Linked DNA regions of Homo sapiens: region 2 is linked to region 1. Evidence: promoter capture Hi-C in 16 types of primary human blood cells and fetal thymus (Javierre and others, 2016). All regions are on one chromosome and are shown on one strand. The core of a region is centred on a gene start or on the middle of the fragment in contact, and the rest is flanking DNA. Distances in the headings are between cores, read along the strand shown.

Evidence for each region. Contacts are between HindIII fragments. The CHiCAGO score rates a contact against its expected background, and 5 or more counts as called.
Region 2: a fragment that was not itself captured here is called in contact with the fragment with the promoter of ANKRD29 in region 1 in 3 of 17 cell types (M0 macrophages, M1 macrophages and total CD8 T cells); the score reaches 7.6 in M0 macrophages.

What each region holds. Positions count from the first base shown.
Region 1 is chr18:23,657,682-23,664,371 of GRCh38, reverse strand. It overlaps ANKRD29 (ankyrin repeat domain 29), which reads left to right and starts at 1,461. Exons shown (of 10, transcript NM_173505.4): 1 at 1,461-1,662. The coding sequence starts at 1,642. The HindIII fragment of the contact is 8,557 bases long and covers 1,105-6,690 here.
Region 2 is chr18:23,921,343-23,928,057 of GRCh38, reverse strand. It overlaps LAMA3 (laminin subunit alpha 3), which reads right to left. Exons shown (of 75, transcript NM_198129.4): 62 at 6,473-6,606. Among named protein-coding and RNA genes, the nearest start is that of LINC02958, 58 kb to the left of the region's middle. The HindIII fragment of the contact is 3,473 bases long and covers 2,460-5,932 here.

The DNA of each region.
Region 1 (6,690 bases), core at 212-2,711:
AAAGAGCGAAACTCCATCTGAGAAGAAAAAACAAACAAACAAACAAAAAACTATTAAAGCAAAACCTCTGATGCTTGATTTTTATATAATAACGTTGTGTGGCAACTTAAAAACTGTGTCATTTATAGGCACTCAAGGCAAGGAAAATGTTTAGAGTCCTTATTTTTAAAATTGGAATTTTCTATAAAAGTTCAGAATGTTTTTAATTTAAAGTTGTTTTAAGCACAAAGTAATACAATTTATCCATGAAGGTTAAACATTTTAATTTTTATCATTAACTTTTATTTGTAATTGTTTTCTACCTTTTAAATTAAATATTCGTTACAAATTTAATTGAGAAGAGGGAAGGAGGGGGAGAATGAATGAGTGGATTCTTATAGTTTGAGGGGGTAAGACCTCCATTTTTATACTATTTTTTTGTTTTGTTTTTATTTTTATTTTTGAGGCAGAGTCTTGCTCTGTTGCCCAGGCTGGAGTGCAGTGACCGAATCTTGGCTCACTGCAGCCTCAACCTCCCAGGTTCAAGCGATCCTCCCACCTCAGCCTCCCGAGTAGCTGGGACTACAGGTGCGCACCACCACGCCTGGCTAATTTTTGTATTTTTAGTAGAGATAGAGTTTTGCCATGTTGGCCAGTCTGATCTCGAACTCCTGGACTCAAGTGATCTGCCCGCCTTTGGCCTCCCAAAGAGTTGGGATTATAGGCGTGAGCCACTATGCCTGGGCTACTTTTTTACTTTCACTTTTCTAAAATGCTCTCAAAGAGCTGTTGTTGCCGTTTATACTTAAAACTCCCAGTTTTACTTCGCCCAAACCAATCCTGGGCAGGCAGCAGGAGTGGACACACATACTGCAATACTCCAGGGCTGCAGCATCAGACCCAGAGGAGGAGGGAACTGCTGGATTAATAACGCGGAGGAGGAGGAGGGGTATGAGTCTATTCCAAAATTGGCCTTTGCCCTTCAAAGAGGAAAAGACCACTTATTGTTTGTGCAATCAAAAGGTTTGTTTCCTAGATATTTTCCCCAGGAGAAAAAAGTTTCCCAGGAAACCGAGAAAGAAATTATAACGAAAATAGCTATTGGATGAATTTTTTCCTCAAGCTTCATTTTTACATCATTATAATATTTGTGCTGTAATGAAGGTTGGGAGTCCTCTGGGGCAGACCAGTCTATTTGGGAGGATATGTATGGAGTTTGTGTGTGAGTACATGCGGGTGAGTGGGCGTGAGTGTGGAAAGTATGTGTGTGGAACCTCTGTGTGTGTGGAATGTGGAGCGTATGCACAATGTGTGTGGAGTTTGGAGTGTGTGTGTGGACGAGTGAGTGTGGAAGTGTGGACGTGTGTGGAAAGTGCACAGTGCGTGCGGAGTTTGGGGTGTTTGTGCACGCGCGTGTGTGGCAGGTCCTGGAGCGCGTCCACGCGACACCCCATGTGTAGTGTGCGCGCGCGCGCGCCCCCGCGCCGCCCCTTCGGCCCGGCCCTGTGTGCGGCGGCTGCTGCCGGGCCGGGCGGCGGGAGCGCGCGGCGTCGGAGGCCGCCCCTCTGCGGAACGCCGAGAGCCCCGGGAGAGTGAAGGGCCGGGGAGGACAAGGCGCCCCGGGCCCAAAGCGCGCCGGCTCCCGCTCGGGCGGCCGCGGACATGTGCAGGATGTCCTTCAAGGTGAGCGACCGGGACTCCGGGGTCAGGGCTGGGGCCGGGCTCGGGCGGCCGGGCCCGCGGGGTCGGGTGGGGTGGGATGGGGTGGGATGGGGTGGGCGCTGCCCGCTGCCCGCCGCCTCCTCCTTCCTCTCTCCTCCAGCTGCGGGCGAGGCCCGGGAGGAAGCGGCGGGGCTGGGTGCGCCCTGTGGGTTTGCGGTTTGCCTGCCTGCCCTGCCTGAGAGGCTTCGCACTCATGGCTGTGGATCGGCTGAGTCTGTGCCCGGCGACGGGGCGGCGGGGACTGTCGCCGGGTAACAGGTCGGGGGCGGGTAAGAAGCCTGGGGTCAGCGCTGTCCTGCAGCAGAAGGAGTCCCCGACCCTGACCCTCTGGGTCCTCATGCAGGAGTACCAGCTGCACCCACGGATGCCTCCTCCCCGGAGGGGTGGCCAGCACCCAGGGAGGCTTCAGGGTCCAAAGGTGTCTTGTCTCAAAAGAGTTGATTAAAGTCATTCCATCTAATCCCCACATTTTAGGATGAAAGAGGTTGATTTGCCTCGATTGAAAGGGTTTAATAAAAATAGCAGTTAAAATGTATTAAACAGTTCAAATGTGCCTGACTCTGAACCAAGGACATGGTGTGTATGGTCTCAACCCTGGGGGAGACCTGTGGGAGGTGCTCTTCGTGGCTCTTTTTTTTTTTTTTTTCAAATGAGAAAACTAAGATATAGAGAAATTAACTCACCCACGGTTTTGCAGCCAATAAGTTATGGTGTTAAGACTGAAACCCAAGTGTGTCTGACTCCTAAGCCACTGTAATCCCGTTGCCGACAATAGCTCATGTAAGCAGAGGAGTGACATGGCGAGATGTGCATGTTGCAAAGATCTCTGGCTAGGTTTGGAGAAGAGGGTTGGAGCTGGAAGATGTTGTCATCTTTTTAAGAAATGGTACTGGACCAGTGCATAGGTGGTGAGAATGGAACGAAGCAGACGAATGTGAATGACTTTAAAGTTTTTTTTCCTGAGACGGAGTTTTGCTCTTGTTGCCCAGGCTGGAGTGCAATGGTGTGATCTCAGCTCACTGCAACTTCCGCCTCCCGGGTTCAAGCTATTTCTCCTTCCTTACCCTCCAGAGTAGCTGGGATTACAGGCGTGCGCCACCATGCCCAGCTAATTTTTTCGTATTTTTAGTAGAGACGGGGTTCTGCCATGTTGGCGAGGCTGGTCTCGAACTCCTGACCTCAGGTGATCCACCCTCCTTGGCCTCCCAAAGTGCTGGGGTTAAAGGCGTGAGCCACTACGCCCGGCCGACTTTAAAAGTTTTAAATCGGCATAATTCAGTAGGGAAGGCAAGAGAGATAAAGATAAAACGTTTGGTTTGGGATAAATTTTGAGGATAGATGGGAATCCAAGCAGAGATGTTGATTAGACAGATATACTCTCCTCGATCCCAGGAGGCAAGTCTGGGCAGCAGCTAGAGATGAGATTTAGGAGTCAGCAGTGTTAAGTAGGCACCCATGGGAATGAACATGATTGCCCAGTGGAACCATATAAAGGTGGAAAATAAGAGGACTGAGGACAAAATCTTGAAGAAGATTTGAGAAAGAGCAGCCAGAGACGAATGAGAAAACTCAGAAGCATGTGCTGTCACTTACACCAAGCATCTCTAATCTTTCAACAAAGATGAAGAGGACCTTGATGTTTATTAATGCCACAGGGAAATCAAATAAACAAAGAATTGAAAAGTCCATTGGATTTAGTGACGGAATAGGCACTGGTGACCTTGCCAAGAGCACTTTCAGTGGTGTTAGGATCAGGAGCCAGATTGCAATAGCTTGAAAGAGAGTGGGTAGAATCCACAAGTGTGGAGAACTCTTTCAAGAAATTCTGCAAGAAACAGATTTTTGTTAGTTTGTTTGTTTGTTTGGACAAAGTCTTGCTCTTGTCACCCAGGCTAGAGTGCAGTGGCGCAATCTTGGCTCACTGCAACCTCTGCCTCTCGGGTTCAAGCGATTCTCCTGGCTCAGCCTCCTGAGTAGCTGGGATTACAGGTGCCTGACACCAAGCCCAGCTAATTTTTTGTAATTTTAGTAGAGACGGGGTTTCGCCATGTTGGCCAGCCTGGTCTCGAACTCCTGACCTCACGTGATCGCCCGCCTCAGCCTCCCAAAGTGCTGGGATTAGAGGCATGAGCCACGGCACCCAACCCAGAGATTCTTTTTAAAAGGCAGTGGCTGCAGCAAGGATCTGGAATTGACCAAGTGTTTGTTTGCTTTAAAATGGTAGAGACTTGAGCATCTTTAAATGATGATAGGCACTTCAACAATAAAAAGACAAATAAAGCCTAATTTTAAAGTGGACATATGAATAGACATTTCTCCCAAGAAGTTTACAAATGGCCCGTAAGCACCTGAAAAGATGCTTAACATTATTAGCCATGGTCTTGGAAATGCAAATACAAAACTGTAATGAGATACCACTTCATACCCGCTAGGATGGCTTTAATCAGCAAGACAATGACGAATGTTGGCAAGGATGTGGAGAAATTGAATCTGCATGCATTGCTGGTAGGAGTATGAAGTGATGCAGTCATTTTTATTTATTTATTTTATTTATTTTTTTGAGACAGAGTCTCACTCTGTCAGCCAGGCTGGAGTGCAATGGCATGATCTCAGCTCACTGCAACTTCTGCCTCCCGGGCTCAAGCAATTCTCCTGCCTCAGCCCCCCGAGTAGCTGGGATTACAGGCATGTGCCACCACGCCCGGCTAATTTTTGCATTTTTAGTAGAGACGGGGTTTCACCATGTTGGCCAGGCTGGTCTTGAACTCCTGACCTCAGGTAATCTGCCTGCCTCGGGCTCCCAGAGTGCTGGGATTATAGGCGTGGGCCACCGCGCCTGGCCGATGCAGTCATTTTTAAAACCATGCTTGTCTTTCTTCAAAAAGTTTTTTTTGTTTGTTTGTTTTTTGTTTTTTTTTTTGTCTTTTTTGAGATGGAGTCTCACTCTGTCATCAGGCTGGAGTACAGTGGCACGATCTCAGCTCACCGCAACCTCTGCCTCCCGGGTTCAAGCAATTCTCCTGCCTCAGCCTCCTGAGTCACTGAGACTACAGGCATGCGCCACCATGCCCAGCTAATTTTTGTATTTTTAGTAGAGACCGGGTTTCACCATGTTGGCCAGGATGGTCTCGATCTCTTGACCTCGTGATTCACCTGCTTCAGACTTCCAAAGTGCTGGGATTACAGGCATAAGCCACCGCACCCAGCCTCAAAAAGTTAAATATAGAGTTACCACATGACCCAGCAATTTCACTACTAGGAATATACCCAAGAGAAATGGAAACGTGTTCACACAAAAACTTGAACATAAAGATCCATAGCAATAGTATTCATAATAGTCAGAAAGTGGAAACAATCCAAATGTCCATAAACTGATGATAAAAACAAAATGTGGGCCAGGCACAGTGGCTCATCCCTGTAATCCCAGCACTTTGGGAAGCTGTGGCGGATCACCTGAAGTCGGGAGTTTAAGACCAGCCTGGCCAACGTGGTGAAACCCCGTCTCTACTAAAAATACAAAAATTAGCTGGACGTCATGGCAGGTGCCTGTAATCCCAGCTACTGGGGAGGCTGAGGCAGGAAAATCACTTGAACCCTAGAGACAGAGGTTGCAGTGAGCCAAGATCATACCACTGCATTCCAGCCTGGGTGACAGAGTGAGACTCTGTCTCAAAACAAACAAAAAAAAAGTGTTTTATATTATAAATACCATAGATAGGGAGGCTTAAACAACAGACATTTATTTCTCACAGTTCTGGAGCTAGGAAGTCTTGAGATCAAGGTGGCTGGTGAGGGCACTTTTCCTGACTTACAGATGGCCACCTGTGCATGCCCCGTTTCCTCACATGACCAAGAGAGAAAGCCCTGGTGTCTCTAATTCTTTTAAGGACATTAATTCCATCATGGGGGCTATACCTACACAACCTCTTTTAAACTTAATTGACTCCCGAAGACTGCTCCTCCTAAAATCATTACACTGGGCATTAGGACTTGAACACATGAATTTTTGGGGGGATGCAAACATTCAGTCCTCAGCCCCTGTCCTCCTGGCATGTCTGTCTTGCGTGCAACATATATTCATTCCATCCCAACAGTCCCCAAAGTTTTAGCTAGTTCCAGCATCAACTCTAAAATCCACAGTCTCATCTAACTATCTAAATCAGATATTGGGTAAGACTCAAGGTATGATTCATCCCAAGTGAAATTCTTCTCTAGCTGTGAGCCTGTGAAATCACACAAGTTTTTTGTTTTTGTTTTTGCTTTTGTTTTGAGACAGGGTCTCACTCTGTCGCCTGCCCAGGCTGGCACAATCACGATTCACTACAGCCTTGACCTCCTGGGCTCAAGCGATCCTCCTGCCTCAGTCTCCCGAGTAGCTGGGACTACAGGCTTGCACCACCATGCCTGGCTAATATTTTTTATTTTTTGTAGAGATAGGGGTCTCCCTGTGTTGCCCAGGCTGATCTCAGACTCCTGGACTCAAGCAATCCTCCTGCTTTGGCCTCCCAAAGTGTTGGGATTACAGGTGTGAGCCACCATGCCTAGTCCTCAAACAAGTTTTGTGGTTCTAAAATACGACAGTGGGACAGGCATAGGATATACATGTTTCCACCCCAAAAGGGAGAAATTGGAAGAAAGGAATGACAGGTCACAAGCAAGTCCAATACCTAGCAAGGCAAATATTATTAGAACTTAAAGTTTGAGAATAATCCTCTTTGGTTCAGTGCTTTGCCTTCTGAACTCACTGAGTGGTGGGTCCTGCTTTCTGGACCAACTCGGGCAGGGGATTGGGCTCGCAAGACATTGGTGGTTAGGGCTTCAGCATATGAATTTGGGGAGGAACACAAGCATTTAGTCCATAACATGGTAATCTGTACAATGGACTATCATTCAGCCATAAAAAGGAATGAAGCACTAATGCATGCTACAACATAGATGAAACTTAAAAACATATTCAGTGAAGGAAACCAGACACAGAATGCCATATAT
Region 2 (6,715 bases), core at 2,947-5,446, 260 kb before region 1:
AACGCTGTGCTCTTTAGTACTTTTCACCCATAAATGAGTAGGTGTTTTATGTTTATCCTTTCCCATGGGATTCCCATAATGCTACTTATTTTATGATGCTGGGAGAACTGACTTCCTTTCTGTGTAAGTTTACATTCCCAGCTTTAAAAATGCAGACAACAATGTTAACAGAAGAATGGCCAGTGGCCGCAAAAGGTAAAGAGACAGAGAACATGCACAATATCTAGAACTGCCCGTCCCTCCCCGCTGGAGTCACGGCATTGCAGGTGGATAGGACATGTATTAATAAGTTAATAGATGATATATGATATACATATATATTAATAAAGTAATAAATCATTTGTAGGAACCAGGAGTGCTCTAGAAAACCTTTTGCTCTTTTTTTTCTGTTCACTGTTAAGTTAGCCACTGTAAAGTCAGAAGAAACAAAGTGTTACTTTTTGGTTCTATTCAATTATGAAAAACGTAGCTTGATTTAACCAATGCCAAGCTGAAACAATGGAACACATTGTCTGGGTTCATATGCTGCTGTATCTACCACCTCCTACCTGTGGGCAAAGGGTTATTGCCAGGATTTAAAAAATTAACGGGCCGGGTGGGGTGGCTCATGCCTGTAATCCCAGCACTTTGGGAGGCCAAGTCAGGTGGATCACTTGAGGTCAGGTGTTCGAGATCAGGCTGGTCAACATTGTGAAAACTTAACTCTACTAAAAATACAAAAATTAGCTGGACGTGGTGGCAGGCACCTGTAGTCCCAGCTACCCGGGAGCTGAGGTTGGAGAATCATCTGAACCCGGGAGGCGGAGGTTGCAGTGAGCTGAGATCGTGCCACTGTACTCCAGCCTGGCAACAAAGCGAGACTCTGCCTCAAAAAACAAAAACAAAACCAAAAAAACAAGTTAACGTACAGCAAGAGCTTGCAGCAGTGCATGGCACCTGGACGTGAATGCTCAGCAGGTGTTTCTGAGAGGCAAAATTGTGCTGCTCTGGACCAGCCAAATTGCCTGGGTTCAAGTTCTGTCCCTTCTGATTGAACAGGCAACTTTTCTCCGTGCCTGTTTCCTCATTTAGACAATGGGAATATGTGAATCTGTTTCATAGGGCTGTCATAGTCTAAGAAAGTTAATATGTGTAACACACTCAAACAGTGTTTTGTACAGAGTAAGGACTCAATGTGAGATCGTCAAGTTAGTAACTACTCCCATATTACTGCTCTTATATAATGAGAGCAATTTCTAAAGCAGCTCTTTCTACATGGCCCCAGGGCATTTCCCCTTCGATTTGACTTCTGGATCTGTCTGGAGCTGAATGCACATAAAGCATTCACACACATGAACTAACTGAAGTCCAGGCAAATATTTGTGTTTCTTAAACAAATGATGTACTAAGAAAACCCAAAGCTGATTTCATTCTAAATCCCTAATGCAGCTTACTTTTCTAAATGGAAAGGTGTCTGCATTCATTTTAATCCAATTCATTAGAAACAGTTGAGCTACCTGTAATAGACCTAAAATTAAATTTCATTAAAAGGAAAAGAAAGAAACAAATCCTCACTGGCATTACAGTATAAGCCTAATTATTTTATAAAGATGGCCTTTTGCCTCAGAAGAGGAGGAGGGTTCATTTCCATTCCTGGAGCTTGCCTATTTATACATGGTTTTAGGTCAATTCTTCTTTGGGTTTCAACATATCTCTTGGACAACGACATTCCAGATGTCCCTCTCTCCATAGATTATTGGTCAAAGAAAGAAGGTTGCAGAAAAGGAAAATAGTAGGAGAGAAAGGCAGTTAACAGATACAGACCACCTATTTTGCACGAAGCTCTATGAATCCAACTTACAATAAGCTTTTGAGGGAGGTATTTTCTCTTTTATATTATTTTATTTTATTTTAAGTTCTAGGATACATGTGCAGGAAGGGCAGGTTTTCTTATCTAACATTTATTGAGCACTGACCATGTGCTGACCTCTGCTAATTCCTTTACACACTCTGAATCTTCCAACCACCCTAAGAGATAGGCAGCTACTATGCCCATACTATAGATGTAGCAATGAGGCATTAAGAGGTTAAGGCCTTGCCTAAGGTCACACAGCTGGTAAGTGGTAGAGCTGGGGTCTGTACTGTCAGTGTGTCACACAGGTTAGTGAGGCTTGAAGCCCTTGCTTTTTACACTTACAGTTGGTATTCCTGCAGCACTTGGAAGTGATCATGCCTTTTTCTAGAAGAGTTACCTACAGCAGAAGTGTTAAAATGGAAGAGATTTACTTCCACTATTCCTGGGGGGATTCTTGTTACCTTGGCTTACCTGAGGACCTACAGTTCTACATTTACTCCAGGATACAGGGTCTGAACATACTTGCTAGAGGAATGTGATTGCACTGGGGCATGAGTTGTTGTGTTGGTGGGTTCCTGCGTTGGGGTATTTATGTATACTTTGGGCCAATCTGTCCACAAAAGCTTAGCCAGCTCCATGGCTGTTGCAGGCCGACTTCAGAGAGCAAAAAGAACAAAAGGCAGCCCTAATCTTGGTGTTGGGTACTTAGTCGATGTTCAATAGATCTACTTTTTGGATCATTTTCATTTTAGTGTGTATAATCACACTCTGTAAACAATGGTGTAGGTCCTCAAGAAAAATGCCCTTGTTGGTGTCACACCCTCTGGCATTACCAGGGATGATTTGCTCTTCTCCTGGGTAGGAGATGGGATTAACAGAATGATTTCTGATTATAATCGGAAACAAGCCATTCCAAGATCTGGGTCCCCATTCCCAGAAGAAACACTACAGTGAGAGGGGGAAGAAACAAAACGTGCACAAAATCCCTTGAGCAAAGCTGATTTAGTGATTACACTTGCTTGCCTTGCTCCAGGTTAGGTTTGAGAACTTTGTCTAAAAGGTCCCTCCATTTATGCCAGGGACCAGAACACCTCCCTGCTCTGGAAGCGTTGGCTGGTTGCCCCTACAGAGCTTGGCTGTGGATTATCCATGGAACTCCTCTGTGCCCACCCCACCTCCCAGTGACTCATGCCCAATGGCAGTTTCAGGAATCTCTGGGCCACCAAAGACTTCACCACAGGGATGAGGCAACACCCAGAACAGCTGACTATTCCTTAGAATTTTGCTTTAGAGGGAGTGAAGGGCCAGTGAAATCTTTTGACTGGCCTCTATCTCCTGCATTTTCCATGTTCCAGTGATTTTAATAAAAAGTCAAAATATAGGCTGTGCATGGTGGCTTATGCCTGTAATCCTAACACTTTGGGAGGCAGAGGCAGGTGGATCACCTGAGGTCAGGAGTTCGAGACCAGCCAGACCAACATGGCAAAACCCCGTCTCTACTAAAAACACAAAATTAGCCGGGCATGGTGGCAGGCACTGTAATCCCAGCTACTCGGGAGGCTGAGGCAGGAGAATTGCTTGAACCCGGGAGGTGGAGGTTGCAGTAAGCCGAGATTATGCCATTGCATTCCAGCCTGGGCAACAAGAGCAACACCTCGTCTCAAAAAAAAAAAAAAAAAAGAAAAAAAAAGGTCAAAGTATAAAACTTGCCCAGAAAAAGGAAGCAGTCCCTTGTTTGGAGGATCCCAAAATAAGTTACTAAGAAAATTCTAGGCCAGGCATGGTGGCTCATGCCTGTAATCACAGCATTTTGGGAGGCCAAGGTGGGTGGACTACCTGAGCTCAGGAGTTCAAGACCAGCCTGGACAACATGGGGAACCCCGTCTCTGCTAAAAATACAAAAAATTAGCCAGGCATGGTGACACATGCCTGTAATCCCAGCTACTCAGGAGGCCAAGGTAGGAGAATCACTTGAGCCCAGGAGGCAGAGGTTGCAATGAGCCAAGATGGCGCCACTGAACTCCAGCCTGGGTGACAGAGCAAGACTCTTGTCTCAAAAAAAGAAAGAAAATTCTGGACTGGGCACAGTGGCTCACGCCTGTAACCCCAGAATTCTGGGGGTGGGAGGATCACTTGAGGCTAGAAGTTCGAGACCAGCCTGGGCAACACAGCAAGACCCCATCTCTACAAAAAATTGTTTTAAAAAAGCAAATTCTCTATGTATATGCATCTCTATATCTATATATTTCTTTAATGGATGGAGATGAAAAGGCAAATAAAGGTTGAGTGCTGAATTAACCTAAAGTTTTGCTGAGCCAAAACTAAAGCCACCTCTTTTGTGGTTCTACCTACTGCTCTTTTCTAGAAAACCTGGACTGACTGGCATCCACATCACTGTCTAGGGGCCTTGTGTTAATATCATGCAAACACAAACCACCACCAATGGGTTCCTTATTGCCTCAACTTGAGAATTCCTCCTGGCTCTGGGTAAGCCCACTGGCCTCTACCACCTCAATGACTACCTGGCCCTGAGCTTCATTTACCCTTCTCCAGACTGGCCTCCTTTCTGGAGGCCCAGGCCATTTTGTGCGCCTGCTTGTGGGCCTCTCCACCTGGCTGTGTCTCAGGCTCCTGGACTAAGCCTGTCTCAGACTTAACTTCTCACCCCACTCCTCCGTTGGTGTGTTCCATCTGCCAAGGGCTTAGCCAAAAACCAGGCATCATTCTTGACTGCTTTTCCCCTTTATTCCCCAACCCAAGCCATTGTGCAGTGCTGCCCATTCACCATCCTAAATATATTTGGAATCTGATCCCTGTTGCTCACCTGCATAACCACTCCTTGGGCCAGGTCACCCTCATCACTCACCTCTGTTAATATACTCGGCCTCCAGCCACTCTACCTGCCTCTGCCCTTTTCTTCTCTAATCCAGTCTCTGCCCTGCACTAGAGTGAGCTACTGAAAACCCAAATTTGGTCATGGCCTTTCTCTGCTGAAGTCCCTCCAATGGCTCCTTACTGTGACTTTCAAGGTACTCTGTGGTCAGGCCCCTGCTGCCCACATCAGCCCCATGGGGCATCCCTATCCCACTTCCTGCTGTACTCTAGCTCTTTGCAAGTTCATGCTTTCTCTATCCAGCTTTGGTGCTTCACATACACTGACTGCTAGCATCTCTCAGGTCCCAGCTGGAGGTCACTTTCCTGATGGCCCCAGTTGGATTAGGTTCCCTCCTGGGCTCTGTCAGCACCCTGAGCTTCCTCCTATGGCACACGTCATGTTCTCCTGTAGTGACTGTCTCTCTTCTGTTCTTCTCCAGGCTCCACCCTGCTCATTGTTGCCTTCTTGGCACCTGTCACTCTGCCTGATGCCCATTAGGCACTCAATAAATCCTGTGTAATGAATGAATAAGTGGCAACTCTCAAACATACTCAAAAGTACTCGAAAAAACTACCTTAAACGATTTTATTTTATTCCATTTCATGGAAATAAAATCAATCTTACTGACAATTCATAACTGGCTATTCATGGCTGAATTGCTATTTGATATTGATAATATTAAATATTAATATAATCTCACTGGCTCTGAATTTCTTCATTTGTAAAACTCAGGGGCTACATACCATGATCTGCAAGGCTCCTTCCAGAGCCCAGGGAGTAAAGATGTCACCCCCAGGTTCTGTTGAAGTGCCCAGCTTTCCCATTTGCATTTTTGCCTTTGGAGGCAACCCTGACAACTTTAAAACAAAGATTAGTACCTGACTACGTAGAATGGACAGACGCCCACATGTATAAGGACTCTAGAAGAAAGAATACCTTGGCATGACACCTTATAAATCATATTCTAGTTCCTTCCAACTGATGTATAAGTTAGCAAAAGAGTTAACTAGCTTCAGATCTCATATAAAAGTCATCATAACCTAACCTTCTGGGAGCACTCTTACTTAGTCATGAGGCTGCACTAATCCTTCCAGGATATGTTCTGTCCACACACTATCGTCAGCTATCTAAAAGCCTTCCGGGAGGATACAAATGATCAAAATGTAAAAGTTATTTTTACGTGCATTCCAAAATGGTGGGATTTTTCCCATTCAGATAAAGCTTTACTGCCTTTCACATTAATTAATTCATGTGTTCACTCATCCAAGAAACAGTTACGTAACAATTCCACGCTCGATAGCATGTAAGGAGCAGCTGATGCCGAAGTGAAGGAGACATACTGTTTCACATTCTTCCAGAGGCTCCCTGAAGGTGGCAACCTCAGCTTTCAGTTCCCCAGGGATGTCTGTCAGGCCTTGGGAGGCCCACGCTCTCCTATGCAGCCTTCAAGGGCCCAGGGCCACAGCCTCTGTTCTACTTGCTGCCAGCATTGTTAACCCAACTATACCCTTCGTGGTCCCTCCCCTCCCGAGAATGACAATGGCGGTGACACACATTCCCCCACCCTCCTTCTTTCCACTGCCCAGTCTCATTATTCGGGATTTAAATCTGTTTTATTCTGTTGACTATACTGTTAATATGGAAAAGTTAACTTTTTGTGTTTGTTTGTTGGTGGAATTAAAAATGGCAGACCAGATTTTTTTTGGTCACAATCATAACCACTAACAAAGGCTTTAAATCTCGTTTTAAAAAAATCATCTTACCTTTCCCTGATTGCAATTGGAATTCCTCCCAGATAATATGTGCTGAAATCAAATACTTCACCATCAATTATAGTGTTTTGAACGTCCACATTTATCCACATACGCTTTTGGAGTTTTCCAATTTTGATCTGAATCTGAAATAAATGAGAGATGAATCAGCAAGCCAGCGAAAATAAGAGAATCCTATTCACAGGGGTTCAGAACTATCATGTTTTTATTTATCTTCCCCCAGATTCATTTATA